Regions from separate parts of the Homo sapiens genome. Here region 1 is linked to region 2. The links are contacts of gene promoters, found by promoter capture Hi-C in human tissues and cell types (Jung and others, 2019). All regions are on one chromosome and are shown on one strand. Each heading gives the region's core, a stretch centred on a gene start or on the middle of the fragment in contact. The rest is flanking DNA. Distances are from core to core; before and after follow the strand shown. Region 1 overlaps KCNK10-AS1 (KCNK10 antisense RNA 1). Region 2 holds the start of KCNK10 (potassium two pore domain channel subfamily K member 10).

Region 1 (3,132 bases), core at 628-3,127, 150 kb before region 2:
ACCTCAAGAAATCTAGCAGTACAAAAAAACAGTTCTGACACAAAGGATCAAACTAGCATTCTAGCGATGGATCCTTACCAACATGAAAATTCTGAAATGACAGAGAACTCAACATATGGACTGTAAGGAAGACCTCAATGCAATCAATGAGATCTAAGAGAAAGTTCAAGGATCAATGAGATCCAAGAGAAAGTTGAAAACAAACATAAAGAAATCGGAAAAACAATTCAACATATGTATGTCTCGTATATGTTATATATATATACATATTTGAGACAGGGTCTTGCTCTGTCACCTAGGATGGAGTGCAGTGGCACGATCTCAGCTCACTGCAACCTCCACCTCCTGGATTCAAGGAACTCTCCTGCCTCAGCCTCCCCAGTAGCTAGGACTACCGGTGCTGGCCACCACGCCTGGCTAGCTTTTGTATTTTTAGTAGAGACAGTTTTACCATGTTGGCCAGTCTGATCTCAAACTCCTAAACTCAAGTGATCTGCCTGCTTGGACTCCCAAAGTGCGGGCATTATAGGCATTAGCCACCACACCCGACTGAGGTGGCTATATTTAAAAACAAGCAAAACTTCTGGAAATAAAAAATTTGCTACAGCAATTTCAAAATACAGTTGAAAGCTTTAACAATAGACTAGATCAAGCAGAAGAATTTCAGAGGTTGAAGACCAGTCCTTTGAATTAACTCAGTCAGATAAAAATAAATAAACATATTTTTTTAAAAAAATGAACAAAGCCTTCAAGGAATATGGAATTATGTAAAAATGACCAAACCTATGACTTATAGGCATTTCTGAGACAGGAGAAGAAGAAAAAGTAAGCAATTTGGAAAAGATATTTGAGGCAATAATTCAGGAAAATTTATCTGATCTTGCTAGAGAGGTAGACATTCAGTTACAAAAATTTCAGAAAACACCTGCAAGGTACTATATAAGATGAATATCACCAAGGCATACAGACATCAGACCATCAAGATCAATGCTAAAGAAAAAATCTTAAAGTCAGCTAGATAAAAAGGTCAAATCACCTATAAAGAAAATCCCATCAGACTAACAGCAGACTTCTCAGGAGAAGCTTTACACATCAGAAGACATTGAGGGCTTATCTTCAGCCTTCTTAAAGAAAAAAAAATGCCAATCAAGAATTTTATATCCTAATAAACTAAGCTTCATAAACAAAAGAGAAATAAAGTCTTTCACAAACAAGTAGATGCAAAGGGAATTCATCACCACTAGACCTAGCCTACAATAAATGCTCAAAGTAGTTCTAAACAGAAACAAAAAGACAAAACAATACTCACTAACATAAAAGCACACATAAGGGCAAAGTTCACAGATCCTATAAAGCAGTTATACAATTAAGACTACAAAGCAACTAGCTAGCAACACTAAGAAACAAACCTCATGTGTCAATATTAACAAAGAAACAAACCTCACATGTCAATATTAGTCTTGGATGTCAACAGCCTAAATATTCCACTTAAAGTATACACATTGGCAAATTGGATTTAAAAAATTAGACCCAACCATCTGCTGCCTACAAGACACCCACTTAATGTATAAAGACACCCATAATATCAAAGTAAAGGGATGAAAAATGTTTTATCACTCAAATGAAAAACAAAAAACAGTAGGGAATTGCTATTCTTAGATAAAACATACTTTAATTAGAAAAGAAGACTTAACTATCCTAAATATATACACACCCAACACTGGAGCACCCAGACTTATAAAACAAATTCTGCTAGACCTAAGAAAAGATATAGACAGCCATACAAAAATAGTGAAGGATTTCAACATTCCACTGACAGTACTAGATAGATCATCAAGGCAGAAAACTAACAAAGAAACTCTGGAATTATACTGGACTCTTGACCAAATGGACCTAATAAACATCTACAGAACATACCACCCAGCAACTGAAGAATATTTTTCTCATCTGCATATAAAACATTCTGTAAAATTGACCATATCCTTAACCGTAAAGCAAGTCTCAATAAATTCAAAATAATGAAATCCTATCAAGTATCTTCTCATATCACAATGGATTAAAATCAAATATCATTACCAAAAGGAATTCTCAAAACCACACAAGTACATGGGAACTAAACAACTTGCTCCTGAAAGACTTTTCAGTACACAATGAAATTAAGACAGAAATCAAAAATATTTTTGAAACAAATGAAAATAGAGACACAACATACAAAAACCTCTGGAACAGAGAAAAAACAGTATTAAGAGGGAAGTTTATAGCATTTCATGCCTTCATCAAAAAGAAAGATCTCAAATTAGCAACCTAACATCACACATCAAGAAACTATAAAAATAAGAATAAACCCAAAGCTAGCAGAAGAAAAGAAATAACAAAGATTGGAACAGAACTCAATGACATTGAGACCAAAAAAAACTATACAAAGGATCAGTGAAATGAAGTTGGTTCACTGAAAAGATAAACAAAATTGATAGACCACTAGCTAGAATAACCACATTAAAAAGAGAGAAAATGTAAATAAACAGAACCAGAAATAATAAAGATGACATTACAAATGCACAGAAAGTAAAAAGGATCATCACAGACTACTATGAACTTTTCTGTGCACACAAACTAGAAAATCTAGAGGAAGTTAATAAATTCCTAGAGACATACAACCTTCCAAGACTGAATCAGGAAAAAACAGCAGTCCTGAACAGACCAATAAGAGTAACAAAATTGTATCTGTGATTTAAAATATTTCAACAGGAAAAAAAAGCCCAAGACAAGACAGATTCACAGCCAAATTTTATCAAATGTAAAAAGAAATGCTGGTACCAATATTATTGAAACCATTCCCAAAAATCAAGGAGGGGAGATTCCTTCCTAACTCATCCTATGAAATCAGCATCATCCTGTTACCAAAATCTGGCAAGGACACAACAGAGAAAGAAAGATACAGGCCAATATCTTTGGTAAATATAGACATAAAGTTCCTCAACAAAATACCAGTGAACTGAATCCAATAGCACATCAAAAGAAAATTCTAGGGATACAAGGATGGTTCAATATACACAAATCAATAAATGTGATTCACCACATAAACAGAAGTAAAAACAAAACCCATATGATCATCTCAATAGATACAGAAAA
Region 2 (2,738 bases), core at 96-2,595:
TGATCACTCCCTTGGAGCCTTAACATCTGTATGCTAATTACAGACACGGTGGCCGACGCTAGGCACACACAAATCCGTCTTAATCCCTCCCTTTTGCGTGGATGAAACCTGGTCCAACATTCGTAAAAGCATGCAAACCACACCATTGCTTGGGCGGGCACACTTCGTGCCCCTCCCCTATGCCTTGCCAGCCCCACCCTTCTCACAAACCACCCCTCCTCCTGCTTCTACTCTGACCTGAGCCTAACTAGCTGCTAGGTTTGGTAATAAGATTGAACGAAGACTCAGGAGGCCCTGTGGGCTCCATTATTCTGCATGCCCTGCGAGAACGGCCCACCCCTAGGGACGGCTGCTGCAACTCGAGCCCCACTTGCTGCCAGGAAACCTTTCCCACTGAGGACACCCGGGCATGCGGCGCAGCTCCAGGTCCAGGGGGAAGCACCCCACCCATCTGCCAGAGAGACAAAGATCACCAGAAACAAAGGACACACACACACACACACACACACACACACACTCGCACACTCAAAGTCAAAAGCAAATACCGACACTTGCAATTTCAAACCAAACAGTCGGCTTGGTCTATCTAAATAGATCTGGAGACAATCTAGGAGGGACAATGATTATGTGGTAATGACAGGCACTATCTGGGTTCGGAACCCACGCTGCCTCCGCCCTCCTCCCACCCGCGCTGCAGTTCCCAGGCGCATTTCCCAGCCTCAGGACACACGCTGCCAGAAGCAAGAGTGCTTCCACTCAAGGAAGCGCGCACACGCCGGAGACAGAGGCAGGGCGAGGGCAGCCAAAAGTAGGAAACACCCACCTTTAGGATCCCAGTTCACCTGTTTTCTTGGCGTCTCGATTGGAAATTTCATTGCTTCGTTGCCCAGAAGGGGAAGAAATGAAAAGAACCCAAATAATAATAAAGTCCTCAAGCTTTACACGCCTCGGTTTAGCAGTCCAACAAAACAATTTCCGAGGATGGGGGAGCCTTGGACTGGCTCGTGGAGGAACCCCAGAAAAAGACAGGTGGGAAAATATTAGCTTGGGGGAGAACTGGAGAGGGCTTGGGTGTTTGCACCGGCCAGGGGGTGGCCGGCCGCGGCCCCGTGGGTAAAAGAAAAAGTAAGATCGGCGAGGGGTGGATGAAAGGATGGAGAGGAAGGCTTGGGGAGATGGAAGAGCCAAGCTGCTTCCCAAAAGCGGTGCCGGCAGGTTAGGGGCTGCGCAGCCTGAAGGCTGGGGCTACGGAGAAGCCCACTGCAGTGTCACTCCAGCCCCCGAAGGCGTGTGCGCACACACTCCCGCACACACACACCCGCACACACACTCCCGGGCGCGCGCTTGGGCGGGCACGTCAGCCTCGCTCGGCCGCGCTGAGCGCACACGCCCCACCCCGGCCGCGGCTCCTCGCCCCCGGCGACGCCCCCCACTTCCCGCTCCCCGAAAGCCATTGGATGTAGGGGTGGCGCGGCGCCCGGGCAGCGCGCGGCGAGGGCGACCCTCCCCGCGGCGCGCCCCAGACGCCGCGCCCCGGCAAGAGGGAGCAGGGCGAGCAGCGGACCGAGGCTCCCAGCTGGGAAGGCGCGCTGAGCCCCCGGCACCCGGCTCGGGGCAGCGGGAGGCGGTCGCGGACTTGCCCGCGGGGCGGCGGGAGGCGGTGGGCGGTGGCGGGGAAGCCGCGGAGGGGCGGGGAACGAGCGGTGGGCGCGCCGCTACTTACTGGCTCGGCCGGCCGGCGGGCGGGCGTGGAGGCGGCAGCGGCGCGCTTGCTGGAGTTGCAGCCGGAGACACGCTTGGTTGCCTGGAAGGCGCTGCAGGAGGCGGAGGAAGGGCCGCTGCGGCTCCGCCGCAGACCTCGGCCTCCGGGTCACCTCTTCTCACCGCTCTCACCCTGAGCTCTCCCTCCTTCTCTTTTCTCACTTCATTTTTTTTCCTCCCGCGTCTGGCTCTCTCGCCTGAGTCCCGAACCCACGTCCCCGCCGCACTCCAAGGAGGCCCGTGCCAGCCATGAGCCTTTTGTTCTGGGACCGCTCCGCATCTGCTGCGCTCTCCCCGCCCGGGGAAGCTCGCTCCCAAGGCACAGCTTGGTCCCTTCCCCAGCTACCTGCAGCCGGACTGGGGCCGCTGGTCGTTGGCTGGAAAGGAGGCTTGAGAGAGGCACGGGGGCCCCCGGAGGAAAGCGGAGTTGCCAAGACCCGGCAGCTCCCGGAAGCGGCGGCCCCGGGATCCTGGGACCAGCAGGGCAGATGCGAAGGGACCCAGACCTGTTCCCGGAAAGGGGCTAAACCTGGAGCATTCGTCTAACGCCCTCTCACTGCCCCTGCTTGAAGCCCCACAGGGGTTTGTGGTGGGGCCTCAGTCTTCAGAAAAGCCAGGTGGTGCTGAGGTGCTCTTGAACGGGTCACTCCGAGTATCAACATGAATGATGCTGACAAATTGCTTCGGATGCCTCGCAACGGAGCCTTACACGTAGTAGGTGCTCAAGAAATACTTGCTAAATGAAGACATGAATTGCATGCTGCAGTGTTGGATAGGAAGTAGTTTAAACCCCTACTCTGGCTTCCAGATAAGGTTACTAAAATTTGTTGTTCATTCAACATATATATTGAACCCCTTCCAAGTGCCATCACTGTGCTATGTGCTGGCCATATGGCAGAGAACAAGACAGAGATCTTGCCTTCATGGGGCTTACTATCTAGTGCCATAAGGTCCTGTTAGATTGTTGTTGCCTTTAC

Evidence for each region. Contacts are between HindIII fragments. The study calls those that stand out against the background at their distance.
Region 1: a contact is called between a fragment that was not itself captured here and the fragment with the promoter of KCNK10 in region 2, in 1 of the 25 tissues and cell types used here (dorsolateral prefrontal cortex).

What each region holds. Positions count from the first base shown.
Region 1 is chr14:88,169,122-88,172,253 of GRCh38, forward strand. All of the region lies in intron 1 of KCNK10-AS1 (KCNK10 antisense RNA 1), which reads left to right. Among named protein-coding and RNA genes, the nearest start is that of KCNK10-AS1, 10 kb to the left of the region's middle. The HindIII fragment of the contact is 4,258 bases long and covers 1-3,132 here.
Region 2 is chr14:88,321,924-88,324,661 of GRCh38, forward strand. It overlaps KCNK10 (potassium two pore domain channel subfamily K member 10), which reads right to left and starts at 1,346. Exons shown (of 7, transcript NM_138317.3): 1 at 824-1,346. The coding sequence starts at 875. RefSeq lists enhancers at 692-1,351, 1,924-1,983 and a silencer at 1,634-1,873. The HindIII fragment of the contact is 9,751 bases long and covers 1-2,738 here.